Regions from separate parts of the Homo sapiens genome. Here regions 1, 2, 3 and 5 are each linked to region 4. Evidence: promoter capture Hi-C in human tissues and cell types (Jung and others, 2019). All regions are on one chromosome and are shown on one strand. Each heading gives the region's core, a stretch centred on a gene start or on the middle of the fragment in contact. The rest is flanking DNA. Distances are from core to core; before and after follow the strand shown. Region 1 overlaps CHST11 (carbohydrate sulfotransferase 11). Region 2 overlaps SLC41A2 (solute carrier family 41 member 2). Region 3 overlaps SLC41A2 (solute carrier family 41 member 2). Region 4 holds the start of CHST11 (carbohydrate sulfotransferase 11). Region 5 overlaps SLC41A2 (solute carrier family 41 member 2).

Region 1 (5,097 bases), core at 1,338-3,837, 280 kb before region 4:
AGAACTGAACCAGCTTCTCAAAGGGCTACTCTAAGACCCCCAACCCTGCCAACTCCGGGTAAATCAGAGTTCACAGGCCAGACTCACAGAGGGCCAGGTGGGCTTCCCGAGTTGTACGTGCAGTGGGTCCCAGCCCAACAGCCCACCACTGCCTCTCTGAGGCTTTGCTACGCTCAGTCAGCCTGGGGTGCTCTTCAAACTGGGCCAGAATCCAGGAGGGCAGGGCATTTTCTCTGAAAGTTATACGAACTTCTAACCAGAAACATCTGGAAATACATGGGACTCTGCTGGATGCCTCTGGGTAAATCTCCAGCTCGGCCAGGCTGGGCATTCTCTGTATGAGCTTGTGAGTCACTGGTCTTTTTCTTATCATCACCCTCTACAAAATGGCCCTCCCCAACCTTCCTTCTCTCTTCTCTTCTCTCTCTCTTCTTCCTTTCCTTTCCTTCCACTGAACATGCCACACGCAGGGCAGTGAATGTCCTGTTCCTTCTCCATGGAATGTTCTTTCCCCAGATTCTGTAGGCACAGGGATGGTATCTTGCAGGGGGAACTTTGGGGAAGGGAGGATTTATACCAGAGGCGAGAAGCATGCTCTCACCTTCCCGTTGGACATTGCCCATGGAATGTCCCACAGGAACCTCCAACTTGGAATGTCTGAGAGTGGTCACTGCCCTCTTCCTGTGTCCCATCTCAGGGAATGGCACTGCTGTCTGCCCAGGTTCCCTGCCAGGTACCTAGGCACCCACTCCCCACAGCCTGGCCACAACCCCGCATCCTGGCAACCCTGGTACAAACCACATCCCCTTGAGCCTCGACTGCTGCTGACAATCCCCTAGTTTCTGGGCTCCAAGCCTGGGTCCCCTCCAGACCAAAACAGAGGCTCTGATCACAGCTCTAACTCTGCTGTCCTTGTGCTTTAAACCCATGACGAGTCCCCACTGCCTTCCATGGAAAGCGCAGATGCCTGAGCCTGGCACCCAGCATCTGCATCCTGGCCCCTGCCAGCCCCTCAGGCTCTGTCTCTCAGCAGCCCTGTCCCATGCAGGGCACTGGACCCCTGTGATTTCTCTAGAAGTACTGCGCTTTCTTGCACCTAAGGGACCTGCCCAGGAGCAAGTCCCCTGCCCCCAAGTCTCTCTGGATTTGCTCACTCTCTTCTTCCCGCTAACTGTGGGGCTTTCAGACCTCACCATATTCCTCACTTCCTCTAAGATGATGTCTCGGATGACCCAGCCCCACCACCAGGCTTGGATCAGTCAGGTATCCCCTTTTCCTGGTGCTCCGCCAGTGATCTAGGCTCATCTCTCTTATAGAACGTGGTATTATTATTTTTACCATTATTGCTGTTATCATTCACAGCACAGCCACCAGCACCACCAGAAGAGCTAATATATTTTGAGTGCCAGGTGCCAAGCATCGTCCTAAGCTCTTGTGTAATCACATTTAGTCCTTCTATCACTCCTACAAGGTAGAGACGTATTATATTTCCATTTTATAGATGAGGCAACTGAAACCCAGAGAGGTGGTCATTTAAGTCACAAAGCTAGCCGGTGGTGCAGCCAGGATTTGAACCCAGGTAACTGGACTCTGGAGCTTACTCTCTTCTCACAACATACTGTAACTGTCTGTTTACCCATAGATCCCTACCTCTGCTCCCTGAAGTTCAGGACTGTTGCCTTGCTCATCCTGGAATCCCCTGTGTTGAGCACCATGCCTGCCCCCAGAGCAGGAGCTCAAAAAATGTTTGCAGAACAGAAGCAAACCTGGCAATTTTGCAGTTTGCCCTGATGAGGGCATGTGGTGCCTGGCAGGGTTCACGTAAACAACACGATGATGATACAGAATCACTGTGTTATTTATCAGATAAACGCAGGCCCCACCCTTGTCTAAGCATCCCAAACCCTCCTCCTCTGGATCTCCATATTATCTGTCTTTTGTCTGTGTTCTCTTGCTGTTACTTTGCCATAAAGCTCCCAGGAGGCAGAGCGCCAGTTCTCACAAATCCTCCTCACCCTGGGGCACTTCCCTGAGTGCCTACCAGGAAAGGCTGTTGGTGGCTGACTGGGTATCCCATGGGGTGAAGGGTGGAATGAACTACAGGGCAATAACCCCAGGTCCTCATTCCTCCCCATGGCAAAGTAAGAAACATGGGACTGGAATATCACAGGCCACCCCGTTTTCCACCTGTGACCGTATTCAGAACTAGGGGCGGGAGAAACAGCAGGCATTTGGGTCCGGATCTTAAGGTCCAGCCCTGCCCTTGTTAGCAGCACAGCCTTGGGCAAGCTGACCTCTCTGAGCCCCAGTTTCTGCAACTATACAACGGGCCCGGGGTGAGATTTAAATGAATGACATTCATCTTGTGCCTACACAGGGCCCGGAACTGCTGGTCCTTCAGGAGGGATCGTGCCCCTGTGATCCTGAGGCCAACCATCTTTCTGATGAATTTTGGGGCTGAATTTTCCTCAAGCAGCTCTGTACCTCCAACTATTTCAAGATAGTTGGATTTAAAATTTTTAAATAAGAAAAATAAACAGAAAAGCACGTCCACTTCTGCAGAGAAGCATGGGCTGGGCCTGAGCAAACACCTCCCTGTGCCCCTCTGGCGCCAGTGCTGACCAGGTACCTCTCAATAAGCAGCTCTGCTGGCGGAAGCTGGCCCTCCTGGCAGGGGAAGCCCTGCTGCCTTCTTTGGAGGAGCAGTGCCCAGCCAAAAGCTACAGAGATTGCTGGTGGTGGCGGGGAGGAGGCATAAGCCCACATTCCTGGGCAGCCCCCACAGGCACACACTTTTGCCAGGGCTGGGCCATGGGGGCATGGCAGCCATCATGGCATCATCAGAAGGCTCAAAGCGCCCCCCGCTGGCTTTTCAAAGAAACCAGACCCATCACCCAACTCCTCCTACCTTACAACGTCAAAAGCAGGGTTCCCCTCCTCAGAGGCAGTATAGATAAGATCAGTGCAGCCAACCAATCTCCCTGGGTTGAATCTGGTTCTGCCACCTACTTAATGATGTGTGATCTTAGGCAAGTTACTTCACCTCTCTGTGCCTTAACTTCCTTATCTATAAGGTAGGGATAGTATTAGGTTGGCGCAAAAGTAATTGCAGTTTTACCATTACTTTTGATGACAAGAACTACAATTACTTTTGCACCCACCTAATGGAAGTACCAACCTCACAGAATATGCAAAGCATTCAGAAGACTGCCTGAAACACAGTGTGTGTCAAAGTGTTGGCTGCGACTCCCAACAACTGATCCTGGTTCAAGGGTTCCATCATGCAGCCCTGGGAGGGAGGGTTGAACACGGGGGAACTTGCTGGGTTTAAAGGTGCCCCCAGAATCAGGCAAGGCCCTTTCCTGATACCCACAGTCAGTGTTACTGCCTCCCACAAAGGCCTTATAAATGTCCCCTTTCCTCTTTCTTCCATGCCATGGGGAAATCTTGGATCTACTCTGAGGTCTTTTCCCTGTGGGATCTGGAAAGCTAGACTCCAGATTTTGCATCTAGCAAAAACAGTCTGGCCTCATGCCCTCCACAGCTACATTCAAGATATGTCTTATCTACATCATCTTCCAGTTAAAGAACCCGGTGGCAGAACAGCATTGTGGGAAGAGGACACACCCTGGAGACAAGGTGCATGGGTGGAATCCCAGTGCGTGACCTTGCACACATCACCTCACTGGTCTGGGCCTCAGTTTCCCCATCTCTCATAGGGCTGGTCATACCTACTACACAAGGGTGTGGAGCAAAGATTAAGTGAGACGATGCATGTCAAGTTCAAAGCACAGGGCTGACGCCCTCTTTGTGAACTACATGTAAGGAAATAAGTGCTTAAAAAAAATACTTAATACTTAGTTCCAGAAAGAAAGCTTCCAATTCCGATGTCACTGCAAAATCAGTCCCCATTTGTTTTGCCATCTGGTCTCATCAGTGATTAGGAAGCTGGGGAGGAGGATGCCAAAAAGAATCTGGAGACTGGGGGTATCAATAGATGATGTGAGCACCTGGGTGTGGCAAATGCCCCGGTGACAGCAACACCAATCGGATACCTGACTGAGCTCAGGTTTGGATATGGACACTTGGACAGGAGGGACATTTGGTGGCTAAGCCCCAAAAGGTGTTTTATTACCTAGTGCTGTGCATGACAGGCACTCCCGCCTGTTACTTCACCCTTAGACCCTTAGAGGGTGGGTTGGGGAAGGGAGAAGAGACGTGAGGAGACTCAGAGATAGGGCAAGAAGGTCTATTTCTAATGTGATGAAAGGTGAATTTTTAAAAAGTAAGTAAAATCCATTGATTTAGTTTTCAGGCCATCTATAAATGTCCCTGGGGTCAAAACTTACGAAAACCAGCCACTGAGTCTAGCTTTTCTGCCAGGACCCTGTCAAAGGCTGGGGAGGCCCTTAGGGAAATAGGGATCACTGCTTTCATCTTTCTGAGGCACCCACGTCTTTGGGAGAAGCCTTGCTGGGGTCTGGCTTATGGCACATAGGCGAACAGAAGGACAGGCTCCTGGCACAGCCAGGTCCATGCCAGCAAAGCTCACGAACCCCAGGGGGCCCAGCCACCACAGGGCATGGCCATAACCTGCCACCTCCTGCTTCTGAGCCACTGATGCTGAGGTGTACCCAAATAAAACTGACCACCAGCAGCGCAATCCTCTTCCCTGGAGGGACCGAGCATAGCTGTGGAGCTGGTTGCAGTTTCTCCTGCCCTAGGACAGAGGGGAGGATGTTGGGGTGGACTTTCTGCCATCACTGCTGATTCCCCCAAAATGCCACCAAAGGCCAATCTGCTGGGCTGCCAGCCCCTGGGGCAGGCTCATCTGTCTCATTCACAGCTCTATTCCCAATGCCCAGTACGTTGGGGATTAAACAGTATTTAGTAAACAAATGCACCTTGAAGGAGGCCGCAGTTGCGTTGGTGCAAAACTACATTTTGGAATCATGACACGGATGGACATTATGCCAGGGAAGGAAGGGAACTAAAAATAGGAAACCTTTACTTGGTGCTGGAAACTGGACACATTATACCCCGAATCCTTTCAACCCTGAGAGGTGGACATGCTCAGCTCCAATTTACAGATGGAAA
Region 2 (5,111 bases), core at 1,326-3,825, 380 kb before region 4:
GTAGGAATCCATTCCAAGCACATAAATATCTCCTGAATGTTCTGAGAGAAGGACAAACTGCTATGGAAGTTCAATAGTGGGAGAGGTTTTTCTATGTGGGGAGGAAGTTTTATAGTGGATAACAATTTGCTTTGTTGGAATCCATAGAAAATGCCGTTTCAGCTAAAAGGAGTAGCATTAGGCAAATGAGAAAAACTCAGGGTATTTATGGAAAACAGCCAGAAATTTCCTGGAGTTAAAAGGAGTGATGAAAAATAAGGTTAGAAATTATAGGTTGTAGCAAGATCATCAAGGAGCTTAAAGAACAGATGATAAAGAGTTTAGTTTATTCTATAGAGTGGTGATTTTCAACTATTTTCCACTCCCAACAAACTTGAGAGATCTGACACATTCCTCTGATGCAGTGTGAGATAATTTATAGGGCTTGGGCTCTGGCTTCCACCATCAAATACCTGCATCAGCTAGGCAGTCACTGCTCAGGCACTGTTTCCCACCTGTATAAAGGGGCTAAGACTAGACCAACCTTGTGGGTTGTTATAAGGATGAAATGATGCATTTAAGGTGCTATTATTTTCATCATTATTGTCTTATTTTTTAATATCAACATCATCATCATCAATAGCTATGGATTACTGGGACAGTGACTCTCTTAGGGTGGCAGTGGAGCAATCAGAACCTATGAAACCAGCATTAAGAGTCTCTACCTTGATTCTGATACCTTACTCCATTCCTTGGAGTCACTTTTCTAGATAAGGAAGAATGTAGCCATATGGTAACAACATGACTATAATTGGAATCCCAGGATAACTACCCAGTAGCTGAGCAAGTTAATTAGCTTGGCCTCAGGCAAGTTACTTTATTCCTTGGAGTCTTATTTTCTTTGCATATAAAATGATAAGGCTTCCTTTTTGCACAGCAGTTATAATATTTAAATACTTGACACATAGTAGGCCCTCATTAAATGATGTAGTTATGTCTTTTTTTTTTTTTAAATCATGATGCTAACTCAAACCCTGTTCCCAGATGGCATCTCAAAGGAAAAACCTAAGCAACCAGGAGATTTAAACAGGTTACTTAATCTTCATATTTCTTCTCACTCCTCAGGATTTAATTCTACCAGATTCTAACTGAAAGTAGGAGCTCTTTATTTTGTCTATGTGACTGTTCTGCCTCTGTCTCTTAATTGGTTTCTCTGTCTGTCAGCTTGGGTTGAAGGAGAAGTATAAAGAGAATGATAAAGGAGATATGAAGGGAGGGCCTATAGTTCCTAGAATTTTTTTTCTAGCTGTAAAAACAGCTCCTTTAACTTTTGGAGTTGATCAATATGCTTACCTTAAGATAGGAAGTTAAAGCAGGTGAATTTTTGAGATTATTTTTTAACAGCCTCGTGATTGCATTTTTGTTATGTGTGATTATGCTATTATAGCTTAGGTTGTAAGGTCTCAAATTGAGACACCTTTCTAAATCCATATTTATGGTTAATTCTTTAGATAGGTATGCTTGGGCTCCAGGCCAGTGATGCACAGAAGATGAAATGACTGTCTGCTTTATTGGAGGCACAGCATGCTTGATTCCTGTGAGGTGAGGCATTGGGAAAGAGCTCTTTTCGGTCTTGTAAAGCCTGATAAAGGTGAAGGTAGAACCAGGGAAGCTCAACCATCTTTTCTCAAGTATTCTGCTTAGGACATTGCTTCCTGTGCTCTGAATCCTGCTGACATTGCAGATATGATTTAGAGGAATTTTCACATCATCTACAAAAAAAATCTTATAACTGAGTGAAACCACATAATTGAAAAGTGTAAAAATAATTACTCAGGAAATTTGCCAGAATAAAATCTAGGTTGATTTGTGACCCTAGAATATTCACCCCCCACAAAAAAAAAACAACAAAACACTGACCTGAATGATTCTATAATTGAAAATGTTTAGCTATTTTTAAGAATAGATATTAGCACAATACCACTTTTTAATTTGAAAGCTAAACATTTGTATTAGTTCAGTGTAACAAAGGTAATTAAATTATATTTTTGTACTATCTAGGGAAATGTATTAAAGCAAAAAGTTTCCAAAGATTTTTGCATTTATTAAAAGGGAAGCTTAAAGGGTATCAAAGGATGGTGAGACCGTCACTCAGTAACTGAAATAAAAAGACAAAGCTGAATTTTTACTTACTATTGTAATGGAGTTATACTGGGATCAGGCACAAGCAGAGCCAACTATTGATCTTCTGTAGGGTTTTAGAGAAGCATGGCTTCAGGAACTGGCAAATGTTCAAAAGCATATTTGGACTAATGTCATCTGTAGAAGTATGATTACTTGGGTATGACCATTGTTTGGTTGGCCCCTAGGGATACATTTAATGGAATTGATTAGTTCCTAATTGGCTACTTCAGGAACAAGGACTATCATTGATTGGCTAGCTTCTAAAGCATGTTCAATGAGGCAAGTTTATTGATTGAATGAATTTAAAACCAGTTGTGGTGGCTACTCGTTACTGTGGCTAAAGAACAATCAGTCTTTTCCAATGAGTGTAGAAACTTATTTATTCTTAGTTCTCACTTTTGCTCTTCACTCAGGAGAAATAATTAAGAATTATCCAGACATTCAACTCTGTTGTTGATTCTCCCTAAAGATGAGATTTCAGTGTAGAGAACTCTTTTCAGTTTAAGTGTCAATCAGCATGATTTCATATTCTTTTTATCTTTGAATCATTTGTTGAACCATCTGCTGGGACAATAGCTGTGCAAAAGCATTTGAGACCGGACAATAAGCATTAAGTGACTGTAAGACAAACAAGAATAACAAGAAATATTTTAAGAAGGGACAAGAAGGCACTTCAGTACCAAGACATAAGATTTTTGAGGCCTGACCAAGAAAACAAGTCTGTATGTTTCTCTAGGTAGCTTGACTGCCTTTTTTTTTTCTTTTTAGCTTAGATATAAGTTGCTTCATTTCATCTGTAATGTTAGTTCAGGTATAGCGTGAAGTGTTAGCAATGGTTTAGGTTGGCCAAGAGAAAATACAACACCATTGTATTATCTATAGCTATAACAGTTAACTATAACTATTTGAGTTAAGGAAATTAAATTGTTCCCCCAGGGCTTGGACTGTGTTATTTACTGTATCAGCCAAAGTGAGAGGTAAATCTTCATGGACAATTTTGAATTGTCAGTTCAAATTGTCCAATTGACTGTCCTGTTGATGGGGTTGATATTTTTAGGCATTTGTTCCACTAGTTATTGTTTTCCCAGAAAGGACTCTAATGAGACATAATCCATCCAAGGGTACTGGGGAGTCATATCCTTGAATTGGCTTAATAACTCTGCATAACAATTAATCTTTTCCTGGATTGGCATTAAAGAAACTAATTCCTACATAGGAAGAAAGAGCCAGGAATTGTACAAGAGAGATAATCCGTAAAGACAGGAATGGAAAGGAGAGTGTGACATAGAAAAAGTTTGTTCTAATGGTCATGGGTGGAATCTGTCTGCTTTGTGTAGTCAACTCTTTGTTCTGAGAATCTTGGGTTAATAGTCAATTCCCATGGATCATCTGCTTCTGAAGGTATGCTGAAGAACCTCAGTTTATGTTCTCTGATGAGTTGTTACTTTTTAGCTCTGCCAAAGTCTCTTTCATTTTTCCAGAGGATAGCAGAGGATGTGGCCAGTTCAGGCTCATGCAGGGATTCTGTTTTATTCATCACTGAAGTTTCAGCACCCAACCCTCTGCCTGGCACAGTAAATATTTATAAAATGAATATTGTTTTTTATTATTTGTGAATTATTTTAGGCATTTCAGTTATGTTTCTTCATTTCGATTCTGATATCCCATTGAAAGCAATAACTATGTCTTATTCTTTGAATGCTTCAGGAATCTCATCACACTGTTTTCTATGTTAGATATAAATAAGTATTCATTAAATTAGATATATTGAGTGTATTTTGTATGGGTAATAGGGAAGCACCTGACAAGGTTCTCTATCTGAAAGAGGTAACATATCAGTTGGAGAGATTAAACATACACCCATAAACAATTTGAAGGTATATTTTTTAAATGTAAAATTACATTCTCAACAAGTGTAATAAAATATTCTATGAACAACTACAGTGATATGTTGCTTAACAATGGGGATACAATATCTAAACTTAGAAACAGTGCAGTAAAAATATGGTATTATAATCTTACAGAACCACCATCATCTATGTGGTCCATTGTTAACAGAAATGTCATTATTTGGAGCATGACTGTGGGTATTTTAACATCATGGCCAGTTTAGAATGTTAAACTTTACGTTTGGCAGGTCATGGTGGCTCATGCCTGTAATCCCAACATTTTTGGAGACTGAGGTGGGAGAATCGCCTGAGGCTTGGAGTTTAAGACATTTTATTTTTAAGACATGGGGAGACCCAGTCTCTACAGAGAGAGAGAGAGAGAAAGAGATTTTAATTTTATGATCGAAAGTAAATAGGCTGAGTGTGGTGGCTCATGCCTGTAATCTCAGCATTTTAGGAGGCTGAGGCAGACAGATTGCTTGAGTTCAGGAGTTCAAGACCACCCTGGTCAACATAGTGATACCCCATCTCTTAAAAATGAAAATGAAAAGAAAAGAAAGTAAAGCTTCATAGTGAAGTACTATTATACTATATACATCAGGGATAATGAATGATCTACAACTCTATACAACAATATAGTAAATCTCATGAACATAAGGTTAATCAAAAGAAGCCAGACACAAACTACATATTGTATGATTATGTAAGTACAAAGATAGGCATAAAAGGTTTTTTAAAAGTAAATGAAGTTTGATAACTAACTTCTGCCAGCATAAGAACTAATATAATGTAGGAAATAGCTTGTGCCTTCTAATTTGAAAACTAATGGGTAGGTGATCAGGCTCATTTTTTCCCCCATTTGACAAGCCCTTGTTTTTAAATACTTTATTTAGAAGGAGAATATGAAGAAATATTAAGTGTTTGTTAACTGCTAGACAATATGTATTTTATTTACATTATCTCATTAATCCTTTCGGTGGTCCTCTGAGATGTATATCATCTCCCCTACTTTCCAAGTGAAAAATCTGAGAAAACTGAAAACTTAAAAAATTTGCCCAA
Region 3 (4,442 bases), core at 1,118-3,617, 450 kb before region 4:
ACCACCATGCCCAGTTAATTTTTGTAGTTTTAGTAGAGACGGGGTTTCACCATGTTGGCCAGGCTGGTCTCGAACTCCTGACCTCAGGTGATCCGCCTGCCTCTGCCACCCAAAGTGCTGGGATTACAGGCGTGAGCCACTGTGCCTGGCCTGGTTTGCTTAATTAAGGGAAAATGGCTCATGTACCCTACAGAGCTTTGTAAGTTCCTTCCTTATATAGTATATAAAAGGTCATATAGCTATATCTGCAGAGGACAATAATGAAATATCTGGTATTAGTGAGCTCTTATTATATGCCAGGTCCTTTGCTAACTGCTTTCCAGTGATATCTTATACCAACCCTATGGAATAAGCACTATTATCCTGCTTTGCAGAGTAGGAATTGAGGCTTAGAGCAGTTGAGTAACTTTCCTGAGGGCACACAGCTCTACATATAGTGGAATAAGTCACATTCCAGAATGTTCCTTTTACCTGCACAGGGTAACTCTGTCAGAATTTATAAAACCAATAAATAACAGCAGTAACAAAAACCTAATAGCTTCCCCATGTACTTTGTAAGAATGATCTGCTAAGGTCTTGGTCTTAGCACCAATACTTTTGGTACTTAATATTTAAAATATTTAAATGTTATTTCAAACATTATTATTTACAGATATAATGCTTTTCCATGTAGTTAGTTGGTAAACTATAGATGATGTTTGGGGGTATCAGTCAGCCACTTAGGTAGAGCCAAACTCATGGAGTAGAATTACTTTAGTAAATTCACTTTAGTCTATAGTATGTAGCCATTGTAATTATTGAACATTAAAAGGACTGAAAAAATAATAGGAGCTCCTTGGGCTGAAGCAGAAAAGTATACAATGAATCTCGAATATCTTGTGGTGCCAGAAAGTAAAGAAGTGCTAAAAATGAAAAAAAAAAAAAAAAGATGGGGACATGACAAAAGGATAACGAGTGACATACTGGCCAGATCTTGGAAAATTGGAGCCATACAATAGATAATGACAGTTACAGATTATATATAACCCATGGAAAAAAATAAGAATCCATTAGTCTATACATGAATAACAAGGCAGGCAAGGTCTCTGCTGTGATGGAATTTGCATAAATTTGGATATCGGTAAGGGAAGTAAAGAAAATCAAACAGGATAATGTGATGATGGATGATTCCTGAGGGCTATTTTACACAACGTGGTCAGGAAAGACTTCTCTGAGGAGGTATATGTAAGCTGGAACCTGAGTAGTAAAGGTGAGTCAGCCATATCGGAATCTGAGGAAAAATCAATCCAGGTTACTATTGTATTTAATAAATGTAACAATGTCAAATATTTATAAGCATTCTAGACAGCTGGGCTTTTAACATGCTTTTTAAGCATGTTAAATGCGTTCGTCGTTAAAAGCATTTTAAATGCTTTTTAAGCATTTAACAGCTAGGCTTGGGGTAGCAATACAAATGGAGACCTATATAACATATGTCTACATAGTTTAAAATTATACAACAAACTTACACACTTAAATATTTTCTCTTTCTGTGTACCTTGACAAATATATCCTTAGGAATACCTGGAAGTCCAAGATCAGATTTAGAATTTTTGGACTTCTTGGGTTCTGTTTTGGAACATGGTGTTGTAGAGAGAGCCACTGAGCCACCCCCTGGTCTGAGGCCTGCCCCAATTCCCTTCCCACCTTTGGTAATAGGTACTGCATTTTGAAAGACCTCACACATACACCAGGCCCCATGTCCAAGCTCCATCTACACCTCCAACAAACACCCACCCCTTGGCGTTCCTGGGGTTCATTGGCACCTAATGGTGGCATGGTCTGCCTTCAGGAACACTAACTTGAGATACCTTGGTCTCAGGTATCTGGAGCATATAGTCTAAGATTTATATTGGTTCCTGTATCCCAGTATTTCCTTATATAATGGTGACATTTGGTGTCAGCTGAATGTTGATTTCAACACTTGACCATTTGGCATACAGCTGCAATGTGTGTCAAGTATATCTCTAGCTTTTATCTTTAAGAAGAAAAAACAAAAAAACTTTTATGTAGTCTTGAGAGGTGACAGCGTGCTGGCAGTCCTCAGAGCCCTCGCTTGCTCTCGGCACCTCCCCTGCCTGGGCTCCCACTTTGGTGGCATTAGAGGAGCCCTTCAGTCCCCCCACTGCACTGTGGGAGCCCCTTTCTGGGCTGGCCAAGGCCGGAGCCCACTCCCTCAGCTTGCAGGGAGATGTGGAGGGAGAGGCACGAGCGGGAACCGGGGCTGTGTGCGGCGCTTGCGGGCCAGCTGGAGTTCCGGGTGGGCGTGGGCTTGGTGGGCCCCGCACTCGGAGCAGCCAGCCAGCCCTGCTGTCCCCGGGCAATGGGGGACTTAGCACCCGGGCCAGTGGCTGCGGAGGGTGTACTGAGTCCCCCAGCAATGCTGGCCCACCGGCGCTGCGCTCGATTTCTCGCCGGGCCTTAGCTGCCTTCCCACGGGGCAGGGCTCAGGACCTGCAGCCTGCCATGCCTGAGCCTCCCACCCACTCCATGGGCTCCTGTGCGGCCCGAGCCTCCCCGATGAGCGCCACCCCCTGCTCCACGGCGCCCAGTCCCATCGACCATCCAAGGGCTGAGGAATGCGAGCACAGGGTGCAGGACTGGCAGGCAGCTCCACCTGCAGCCCCGGTGCGGGATCCACTAGGTGAAGCCAGCTGGGCTCCTGAGTCTGGTGGGGACGTGGAGAGTCTTTATATCTAGCTCAGGGATTGTAAATACACCAATCAGCACCCTGTGTTTAGCTCAAGGTTTGGGAGTGCACCAATCGACACTCCGTATCTAGCTGCTCTGGTGAGGACGTGGAGAACCTTTATGTCTAGCTCAAGGATTGTAAATACACCAATTGGCATTCTGTATCTAGCTCAAGGTTTGTAAACACACCAATCAGCACCCTGTGTTTAGCTCAAGGTTTGTGAGTGCACCAATCGACACTCTGTATCTAGCTGCTCTGGTGGGGCCTTGGAGAACCTGTGTGTGGAAACTCTGTATCTAACTAATCTGATGGGGACGTGGAGAACCTTTGTATCTAGCTCAGGGATTGTAAACGCACCAATCAGTGCCCTGACAAAACAGGCCACTCGGCTCTACCAATCAGCAGGTTGTGGGTGGGGCCAGATAAGAGAATAAAAGCAGGCTACCCGAGCCAGCATTGGTAACCCGCTTGGGTCCCCTTCCACAGTGTGGAAGCTTTGGTCTTTTGTTCTTTGCAATAAATCTTGCTACTGCTCACTCTTTGGGTCCACGCTGCTTTTATGAGCTGTAACACTCACCGCGAAGATCTGCAGCTTCACTCCTGAGCCCAGCGAGACCACGAGCCCACCAGGAGGAACGAACAACTCCAGACGCGATGCCTTAAGAGCTGTTAACACTCATCGCGAAGGTCTGCAGCTTCACTCCTGAGCCAGCGAGACCACGAACCCACCAGAAGGAAGAAACTCCGAACACATCTGAACATCAGAAGGGACAGACTCCAGACGCGCCACTTTAAGAGCTGTAACACTCACTGCGAGGGTCCGCGGCTTCATTCTTGAAGTCAGTGAGACCAAGAACCCACCAATTCCAGACACAGTCTTACTGAGATTTTGAGAATTAGTGAAATTATATGCATGTGTTTCATCTTTTCCTACTTGTATTATGTTATAAGAACTGGTGAATTACCTAGGTAGATAGAACTCAATCCGAGAGGCTTTTTGGCGGGAGAAGAGAATGAAGAGGCCTTGAGAAACAAAAGTGGCAACATTTGAAGAAGAAAGTTATTTGAATGGGAGTTAAAAGGTGCCTTTAGTTTCATTTGTTGGAAATTGAACTTTGCTCTGATAAACATAGTTAAGCATACAAGAATTTAAGCAACTTGATAACTTTGGCAGGAAAAGTGAAGTTTTGGCTAGCTTATCTCAAAGAAAATATTTCAAAAGTATTGTTCTTGAGCATTATCCAGAATAATAATAGATTTAAAACACCAGTCTGTTTTGAAATAGGCCATGCTGTAGGGAATCTGGTTAAAAAACAAAATGCTGCAAATGATATTTGCTGTTTAATTTGATCACATACTACCGTTAAACCTGAATGAAGGTGAATTTAATCTTTTTTTAACCTTCGTTAATTTGTTGTGGTGTCTATATTTTACACTAGGTATTTTTCTCAAATGTCTGGTTATATGTATGTGTCCATATTTAAGAGAAGGAGTCTCAGGAGCTGATTACAAGCCCAGCACAGGGGAGAAGCTTGCCATCTGTGGTCTCTACTCTGCTGCAGGGTGATCTAACTTAGTATTTCTTTAGAGAGGTAGGGGTAGAGCTGCCAGCTTCCATTGGTTGAGAGCTGTGCTACTGATAAGAAGATAGTTCAGTCAAGGAAATAAGAAAACATTATAAGGAAATAAGAAAACGTAAATAAGAAGTGTT
Region 4 (4,677 bases), core at 1,891-4,390:
TGAAAGAGATTCCACATCAGTGGTCATTAACAGTGTAGCTTAATAAAATGAACCCCTCAAAAAGAAAATGTTTAATGTAGATTTGAAAGTATATTTTTATGCCCCGTGTAATGATAAACTGTTGACACAGAGCTTTTGTGGACTGTAAGTAATCTGAAATAAGGAAGGCCTTTCAACTGAACTATCTGTAATTCTACATTCAACACAATGTTTTGAAAGTAGTATTTGCTATGGACTGGAGGGAAATATCAGAAAAGTATATTTATAGAGATCTAAATAATAAACAATGGGAGAAAATAGGACTAGAGGGGGACATAAAGGATGGGGCAGGATCATCGACAGAGGATCTTTTTCAGCACAAGCTTAGAAAAGGTTCTCTGCCTCTTCCAAAAGGCTAGGCTGAAAAGATATGATGTCACTTTCAAGTCAACTTAAGACTAACAAGGGCTGGAAATTTTCACAAAGTGACAATTACAAGTTGGAAGTTTCTTTCTAGTATCTTTGGCTAGAAAGTTATTTCCCAATTCTCACAAAGAATTCCATGACAATTGTATTTCCCTGGGCAATTAACAGGTACACAGAAGCTCAAGCGCATTCCTGCTGAAGGCTGACACTCATCCGTGTTCTGGGCATTCGTACAGAGCATTACTGGCATTCACGGTCCCAGCGAAACCTGAACACAGCTCTAGAGTCTAGACCAAATCACCGGCCCCTTGTTTAAACTGTTTGAACCCGAGTGTATCTGTACACCACCAGTCCCCTGGCGCTCTGGGGTGAGTCTGGCCCGGTCTCCGGTGGGCCCTGGAGCTTGGCACTCTGAGATACCCCTGGCTGTCTGGCCCTGCCCACTGCAACCAAGGCCTGCCTGCCGGAATGCAAGCCAGGTCCATTTTTAAATTCCTTTATAAGTTTCACAACCGCAGGTTTGGGTGAGGAGACAAACACCGCTGTAGTTTGCTGACATTAAACTAAAAATACCCAGCTGCAAACAAAAGCCATCTTTAACAGGGCTGGCTCGGACGTCCTGAGGTTACATGTGGTAGAGTCGGACCATATCCTTGGCAGTGTGGCTGCCTTAACAACTGCTCCAGACCGAGTGGGGCAAAGGGGCCGTCTGTCCCTGCGCTGTCAAGGAATCTGCAGCCTGCAGCCCTGCCTGTTTGATGGAAAGAACAGCTTTATTCCTCTGCCATCGACCCAAACGCAGGCTTGATGAATTCGGGACTGCGTCTGTTTAAAGTGTTAGATACACAGTGAAAGGAGAAGGCGGGAGGCAAAAATGAAAAACACCAACCCCACTTCCCTGGAAGGAAATGCGTTTCCACCTCCCTCCTCCTTGCAATTAGAAAAGCAAATTATTGCTGTGACTACGCTGAGAAAGGCAACTCGGAGGCGTAGAAAATGGATTTCTGAGCCAACGTGGCCCGGCAGGGGGCTGCTAAGGGAGGGTAAAAGGGAGCAGGGGAGCCACGGCTTGGCGGGGAGACCCGCGTTACCCGGAAGGCTTCTCGGAACGTTCTACCTGTTGGGCTTCGCAGCCGAGCTGCTCACCCCCGGCCGCCGCGCTCGAGGGCGCCCCTCCCTCTCCAGAACCCAAACTTTCCCTCGCACCCCTAGGAAGCGACGAGCCTCGTCCCTCCCCCAGTCCAGATTTCGGACGTGGAACTTTGCCTGAGCCACAAGGGACCGGAGGAATGGGGTTCATTCCCACGCCGCCCGGGGGATTCCCGTTGCTCGGATCCCAGAAGTGGGGGATGCAAACGGACGGTCAGCCCAGGACCTGGCCAAAGTTTCCTCCAAAACTGCAGTGGTCAAGGCGTGACCCAGGAGCTCGGAGTTTCCAGCTCAGGGCTGGGGGCTGGAGCAGGCCCCGGGGCACCAGCCGCAAGGTCACTGCGGAGCCGGACCCCGGGGGCAAACGGCCGGCGCGTGGTGGAGGGGCAACGCTGGGCACCCGACCACTCTCCACACCTGCTCAGCTCTGCGCGGAGCCCGGGACACGTGGGAGCCCAGTCCCGGGCTCCCAGCCTGCTGCAGGGACTCGCAACCTCGCCGGGGCGTACACCCTTCGCCCCCGGCCCGGCAACCAGGAAGAGGCGGCTCGCCCGGGCGCAGAGCAGCCGGCTCCGGGTAACTCTTTCATCCTCCGACCTCGGCAGCAGCAGGGAGGGAGTTTCGTTCTCCTCAAACCAGCCCCTCACCCCCGGTTGCTTCCCACACCTCTCCGTTTCCCTGCTACCTCGCAGACAGACAGACAAGGGACACAAAGAAAAAAAGAAGAAGAAAAAAAAAAAAAAAAAAACTACCGCCCCTCCTGGTCCCATCCTCCAGCCCGGAGCCGGTAGGAAGAAGAGGGCGAAGCACACCTTCCCTTCTCCTCCCCATCCCGACGCGGTGACCCGGGTAGATCTGGGCAGCCAGGAGCTCTGGGCAGCCAGGAGCCCCGAAGAGGCCGAAGGCGGAGAGGTAGGGTTGGAAGAGGCAGAAATCAGGCGGAGCGAGCTAGAGCGCGAGAGAGAAGAAAATATCCAACAAAACCACGCTAACGCGCCCCCTACCTGGGTGCAACATACTTTGGAAATAGAAGATGACCAGGATAAAGGATCCCAAGCAAGTGGCCAGCACCATCCGGCAGATTCTGTTCATCCTCATCACTTCCAGCAGCGCTGGCTTCATGGCTTTGTCCTGGCTGCGGGGACCGGGGTGTCCGGGAAGCGCGCCCGGGGCGCAGGAGCAGGGACCCCGCCGCGCGGACCGGAGCCCGGGAGGCGCGGGGCAGAGCTGAGCAAGGCTCAGAGGGAGGATCGGAGTCGCTTCGCGGCCGCTCTCGGAGCCCCCAGCCCGGGCAGGGGTGTGGAAGGTGCCGGAGTTGGTCTGGAAGTGCTGAGATGCGTGGACCCGCTGGCTGCGCGCTCCTGCTCCTCCTCCTCGCCGCTCCGCCGCCTCCTCCGATCCCGCCGGCGGCCGCCGCTGCCTGGTCGCGGGCCGGGCGGCTGGGGTGCGAGCGGTGATGGTGGTGCCGCCGCCGCTGCCGCTGCGCTGGCCGCTGTGGCTGTCCGACGGGCCCTCTCCCTTCTCTCCAAAGGCTACTTCATTGCGCTCCAACGATCTATATATTCCGGGGCTGGGTTTTACCAAATGCAACTCGCGGCCCCCGGCGAGGGGAGGGCGCCTGCGGAGAGCCGGGAGGAGGGAGGGACCCTAGCGCCGGGGCGGAGCGTCGCGCTCCCCCCGCCCCTACCCGGGATATGGTCGCGTCCAGCTGTTGCCCGGGGAGTGCGGTGTGCGCGCCGCGCTCCCGCAGGGTCCCAAAAGCCCTCAGTCCCCGGCCGGGCTCGGCCGCCGTCTGGAGGTTGTGTCAGCGTTTCCATGACAAAACCCGGAGGAAAAAAAGACGAAGAAAATCGCCTCGGTGCTGCCACCCACCCCCGCCAGCGTTTGGAGAGGGAAGTGGCAAGCAGCGGGCTGGGTCTCGGAGGGAAGAATTAAGGGTTAGGGGGTTTCTGGTGGCTGGCAATTATTTAAAATCCCTGGGCGACGTAGCGGGGAAGTTGCCCCAAACCCCCAGGGAGCGAGTGCCCATTTTCCGACGCTCAGAACTGGGCGGTTTCGTTTTTCTTTCAAAGGACAGCCCAGCTTGGGAGTCGGGGTTAAAGAGGGCTGACTTAAAGTCAGGGTTAAGGAAACTGCACGACCCTCGGGTCAGGCGACAGCTGAGCTTTCCCGGGGACTTATACAGACAGAATCTCTGACACCCACCATCACCACCATTCCTCAAGGCAAAAGGGATCTGTGGGTTGCAAAACTCTGCTACCCCAAAGGGTAGAGCATCCTCCAAATTATTCAAAATTAACAGCAGTCTTAGCTGGGAGGGGGTGAGAAAATGCCCCTAGGAAGCCACCTCAACCAAGTCCAGAAAACTGCTGGAAAAGCCAAGCCAGCCATAGCACTGGCAGGTACATGGAAAGATGGTGCTGCTTTCTTGTATTGTGTAGAATGACTTCCAGTTTCCAATTCCATGCATTTAGGCTGTTTCACAATCAATAAAGTGGACACAGCCAATAGTGTAGGGATCACTCGTATGTCAGGGAAAAAAAAAATGTTAGTTAGACTAACCTTTGTGCCTTATCAAGTCATTACTAATTCAATTAAAAATGAAATAAGATACTGTGTCTTTCAATGCCTCTCACAAAATAGGCATTTGATAAATTCTTATTGAATCTGAATGTAATGGGCCTTATCCTCCCCTCGATAGACAGAGACACAACTTGCAGTTAGACACATGCAACAAAAACCACCTGGGCAACCTCAGTTCCCTTCCCCCAGAGTTCTCCTCCAGCAGTTGCATGGTGGGGAAAGTAACAAACTCAGCAGCCTTGCCTTTGATTACAGAAGACAATCAAAGCACAATATTTATGTAGCCGGTGTGCGCTGTATTAATTTGGACTTACCTGTGAATAAGTTGCTTGCTCAAGGAAGCCAGGCTGAACAAGCTTCAGACAGAGTCGTTCTCCAGTGATTCTTCTGCTCTGGTGATAGGAGATCAGGAATGGGAGTTGCACTGCACCCTCCCCACCTCCCCACCATCATCACTAAGAAAGGGGATTCCTTGCAGAGGGCATGGCTTAGATGGGCATTTGCACAAAGCCTTTGCCTGGAATATAAGTCTCTCATTTA
Region 5 (4,745 bases), core at 217-2,716, 400 kb before region 4:
AAGTAATCTTTCTTAATCTTATCATGAACTACTAGTTTGAGAGTCAGGTATACCTGACTTAAGATTAATGTGGCAAAATATATTTCAGATTTTGTTTATTATTTACATTGGGATTATCAGCTATTGTATATTGTTTTGTTGTTTCTTTTGTCAATTTTTGTGGATAAATTAGAGACAGCTGGGTTTCAACATTGCTTATCCATTCAGTTCATTAAAATCTGGGGTGGGCACAGTGGCTCATGACTGCAATCCCAGTGCTTTGGGAGGCCTAGGTAGGAGGGTCGCTTGAGGTTAGGGGTTTGAGGCCAGGGCAACATAGTGAGACCCCCATCTCTATAAAAAATTCAAAAATTAGCCAGATGTGGTGGCACACACCTGTAGTCCCAGGTATGTCCTCAGGAGGCTGAGGCAGGAGGATTGCCTGAGCCCAGGAGTTAGAGGCTACAATAAGCCACTGCATGCTAGCCTGGGAAACAGAGTGAGACCCTGTCTTAAAAAAAAATAAAAGAAAAAAATCTATTGGTCCTCAGCTGATCCCTTTAAAAATCTGTCGTATATTTTTTTGTTATCTATGAAATGGGAATTATAATACTTAAATTCACAGACATTTATATATGAATTACATTTAATAAGATCATTTTAATCCAGTCTACCGGCTTCTGGGGTGACTGTCATTAAAGTGGATTTTTTTTTTTTTTTTTAGTTTAAGTTCTGGGATACATGTGCAGAACGTGCAGGTTTGTTACATAGGTATACATTTGCCATGGTGGTTTGCTGCACCTATCAACCCATCATCTAGTTTTTAAGCCCCGCATGCATGAGTTATTTGTCCTAATGCTCTCCCTCCCCTTGCCCCCCACCTGACAGGCCCTGGTGTGTGATGTTCTCCCTGTGTCCATGTGTTCTCATTGTTGAACACTAAAGTAGATTTTAAGTACAGCCTAGATCAATATAATTTAAAAAGTAATTCTACTTGGGGAAAAACATGTCCCAGGATATACTACATATTTAATGTAATTTACTTTGCATATCTATGTAAAAAGAAAATATGTCAGTTGGGCACGGTGGCTCATCCCTGTAATCCCAGTACTTTGCGAGGCCAAGGCAAGTGGATCGTTCAAGCTCATGAGTTTGAGACCAGCCTGGGCAATATGACCAAACCCTGCCTGCACAAAAAATATAAAAATTATATTTTTACAGGCATGGTGGTACACGCCTGTAGTCCCAGCTACTTGGGAGGCTGAAGCAAGAGGACCTTCTGAGCCTGGGAGGGAGGCAGAGGTTGCAGTGAGCCAAGATCACGCTACTGCACTCCAGCCTGGGCAACAGAGCAAGACCTTGTCTCAAAAAAAATGTATATATGTATATATGTAAAAAATATATATGACATATAAAGGCAAGTTCTTCAAAATCTAATTTCATGTCTAAAATTTCTACTGAATATTTTAATTTTTATATCACTTTAGAATATCAATGAACAAATTTTCCCTATAGGTCTCTCTCTTCATGCCACCATTCTCCCCGTCACCCACACATAAAATTGTGGGACCATCTATTTCAACCTGGTCCTTCATCCTCTTTGACTGAAAAATGACCAAGCCATTGTCTGCTTGCCCTTTAACACAGTTCACTTGCTCAATCATTTATTTATATAACAAGCATGTCTTACTCTTGTAGCCTAATGTCTCAATATAGCCATCATTCAAGTAATAAAGTAGGCTTCCTGACTCACTCTCTATTTGAGGCAAATTAAGTGTCACTAATAGCCTAGTCATTCTTAAACATTGTTTTTATTACATGGGTCCTAAGATGATGAATTTAACAGTGGTTTTTTTCCCTGCCTATCAGATCAAATTTGAATTCTTCTGCCTAGCTTTCAAGGCCCTCTGTACATGGTTGGACTCATTGTTTCCCAAAGACATGCGCAATTTTTTCATTATCATTCTAACTAGGTTTTTATATTGTCCCTACAAAGATTCATCTAATTTTCACTGCCTGGAATAACTACTGCTTTCCTCCCTCCTCTTCAGATCCTCTTCTGTGAATATTAATGGATGAGTTCATTAGCATAAACATTACTCATAATGACTGTTAGAGCTATATTAAACAACATTTCAGTAAGAAATTTAACTTAAATTACAATAACCCTTTTATTATAAGGCTTTAATGCATATTTCAGTTGTTTTACCTTAAGTAAGAAACAATTCTAGAGCTTCACTGAAATGCTCTCCTTGGATGTCTGTGCTGTGGCATTGTGTGATATTCATAGTAATATATTTTTAGTATCTCAGTAAGTAAACCTCTTAGTTGGCTATCAGCACTTTGGGAGGCCAAGGCAGGTGGATCGCTTGAGCTCATAAGTTTGAGACCAGCCTGGGCAACACGACCAAACCCTGTCTGCACAAAAATTATAAAAATTAGCCGGGCATGGTGGTACACTATGAGCTTATAAATTCCACTCTTTAAAAAACATTAATAGAGATGGTTTACTCTATGCTCCTCAAATAAGATGGAACTTTTGAGAATTGAATTTCATTTAAAATGTGTTGGGGAATGTACTATTTAAAGGACTCTTGTTTATCTTCATCATTATCATCATTATCTGCTATTTAGTGAGTACCTACCACTATGTACCAGGTAACTTACAGGTTTTTTTTATACATGTTGTGTCGTATAATCCTCACAATAAGATCAGTAGATTGTCTAAGGTCTCTTATCTTGTAAGTGGTGAGTCACGATTGAAAACCAGATCGGGTCTATTCTAAAGCCTGTGATTTTTTTTTTCTCAAAATATGCAGCTACTAATTTATGTTTTATTAGCTACAAGAATGCATACATTGTTTAAGGCATATCTGTGTTCATATTGTGACTAGGATATTTTTTAATATTTATTAATGTCTTTCAGAACTAGTGGCATTTTCCAAAATATATTTCATGGTAACACTAGTTCTGTGAGATGTTAATAAGTATAACTTGAAAAGTGAGTTCTGTGGTCAATCAAATTTGTTAAACATTAAGTTAAACAAACTTGCTTACTACGAGATTTCTTTATTGTTGTTGGTGTTAATTCTTCTTTATTTTTTTATTTTCTTTTTATTATACTTTAAGTTCTAGGGTACATGTGCACAACGTGCAGGTTTGTTACATATGTATACATGCGCCATATTGGTGTGCTGCACCCATTAACTCGTCATTTACATTAGGTATATTTTCTAATGCTATCCCTCCCCCCTCCCCCCACCCCACAACAGGCCTCGGTGTGTGATGTTCCCCTTCCTGTGTCCAAGTGTTCTCATTGTTCAATTCCTATGAGTGAGAACATGCGGTGTTTGGTTTTCTGTCCTTGCGATAGTTTGCTGAGAATGATGGTTTCCAGCTTCATCCATGTCCCTACAAAGGACATGAACTCATCCTTTTTTATGGCTGCATAGTATTCCATGGTGTATATGTGCCACATTTTCTTAATTCAGTCTATCATTGATGGACAAATTTGGGTTGGTTCCAAGTCTTTGCTATTGTGAATAGTGCCTCAATAAACATACATGTGCATGTGTCTTTATAGCAGCATGATTTATAATCCTTTGGGTGTATACCCAGTAATGGGATGGCTGGGTCAAATGGTATTTCTAGTTCTAGATCCTTGAGGAATTGCCACACTGTCTTCCACAATGGTTGAACTAGTTTACAGTCCCACCAGCAGTGTAAACATGTTCCTATTTCTCCACATCCTACTACGGGATTTCTTAAAGCCTTTATCATGCTAACATAAACGTGAGTCTCTCTTTCTGGTACTTCTGTTAGCTAGGTGTTGGGATTTCTAGATCTAACCTTCCTCAGACCCCCTAGACCACACTTTGAGAACCATTGATTTAGAGCTTATATCTTTTTTATCACAGTCTACTTTCAAACAATAGTAAACCACTTTACATATAGGATAAGAAGCTTATGTCACTATACTTGAAATACCACTCCTCTTTCTTATGTACTCTTTTTTGAAATACGTTTTACTTATGTACTCTTTTTTGAAATACGTTTTACTTTTTTGAAATAGTAAATCCTGTAATATATTGTTATTATTTTTTGCTTCAGTTATTTTTAAAAAGAGACTAAAAATGAAAAATATATCTTTTAGATTTTATCATATAAAGTTATATTTCCAGCACTCTTTCCTTTGTGTAGATCCAGGTTTTTATCTGGTATTATTTTCCTTCTGCCTGGAGAAATTCCTTTAATGTTTGTTGTAGGGCAGGCTTACAGAGAAAATAGAGTCTTTAGGCATGTCTCTCCCAGCGTGCTCTTTCCTTTCCCTTCACCTCTGTTCGTATCTCTAACAATGTCTATTTTTAACTTCTTTCACCCCTATCTCAGAAGAGCTGATTCTTTTGCCCAGGACTGACTAGTTGACCTGTGCCCTGGATACTATTCCATTACAATTCCAATGGGAGCCTTACTCCATCAATTATTTTAACTTTTCCGGTATCTCCCATGTCTTCCTCTCTTACATCTTTTCCCTTTAGCTTACAAATGTGCACAAGTTTTTTATCCCAAGTCACCTTTCCCATAGTGCTCTGCCTTCTCAAGCTTCTGTTCTGTCTCTTCTACTCTCTACAATCAAACTTTCCCAAGTGTAGTCTGTATTTTTTCAACTCATTATAGTATTTTTCTTCCTTCTCACTCTACAAAACTGCTTTTACTAAGCTCTCCAGTGACCTCCTAATTACTTTATCCAATAACTTATTTTCAGT

The links. The method cuts DNA at HindIII sites, captures the fragments that hold promoters and counts their contacts. A contact is called where the count stands out against the background at its distance.
Region 1: a fragment that was not itself captured here is called in contact with the fragment with the promoter of CHST11 in region 4 in 4 of the 25 tissues and cell types used here (IMR-90 fibroblasts, liver, neural progenitor cells and 1 more).
Region 2: a fragment that was not itself captured here is called in contact with the fragment with the promoter of CHST11 in region 4 in 6 of the 25 tissues and cell types used here (H1 embryonic stem cells, IMR-90 fibroblasts, dorsolateral prefrontal cortex and 3 more).
Region 3: a fragment that was not itself captured here is called in contact with the fragment with the promoter of CHST11 in region 4 in 3 of the 25 tissues and cell types used here (H1 embryonic stem cells, aorta and spleen).
Region 5: a contact is called between a fragment that was not itself captured here and the fragment with the promoter of CHST11 in region 4, in 1 of the 25 tissues and cell types used here (aorta).

What each region holds. Positions count from the first base shown.
Region 1 is chr12:104,731,654-104,736,750 of GRCh38, reverse strand. All of the region lies in intron 2 of CHST11 (carbohydrate sulfotransferase 11), which reads right to left. Among named protein-coding and RNA genes, the nearest start is that of MIR3922, 140 kb to the right of the region's middle. The HindIII fragment of the contact is 7,646 bases long and covers 1-5,097 here.
Region 2 is chr12:104,830,561-104,835,671 of GRCh38, reverse strand. The region is part of intron 10 of SLC41A2 (solute carrier family 41 member 2); the gene reads left to right. Among named protein-coding and RNA genes, the nearest start is that of SLC41A2, 130 kb to the left of the region's middle. The HindIII fragment of the contact is 4,985 bases long and covers 83-5,067 here.
Region 3 is chr12:104,903,692-104,908,133 of GRCh38, reverse strand. All of the region lies in intron 3 of SLC41A2 (solute carrier family 41 member 2), which reads left to right. Among named protein-coding and RNA genes, the nearest start is that of SLC41A2, 52 kb to the left of the region's middle. The HindIII fragment of the contact is 5,831 bases long and covers 1-4,442 here.
Region 4 is chr12:104,455,411-104,460,087 of GRCh38, reverse strand. It overlaps CHST11 (carbohydrate sulfotransferase 11), which reads right to left and starts at 3,140. Exons shown (of 3, transcript NM_018413.6): 1 at 2,559-3,140. The coding sequence starts at 2,676. RefSeq lists silencers at 1,602-1,661, 1,822-1,961, 2,552-2,831, 2,872-3,041, 3,122-3,251 and enhancers at 2,352-2,401, 3,322-3,401, 3,422-3,471. The HindIII fragment of the contact is 13,105 bases long and covers 2,429-4,677 here.
Region 5 is chr12:104,856,351-104,861,095 of GRCh38, reverse strand. All of the region lies in intron 8 of SLC41A2 (solute carrier family 41 member 2), which reads left to right. Among named protein-coding and RNA genes, the nearest start is that of SLC41A2, 100 kb to the left of the region's middle. The HindIII fragment of the contact is 5,592 bases long and covers 1-4,262 here.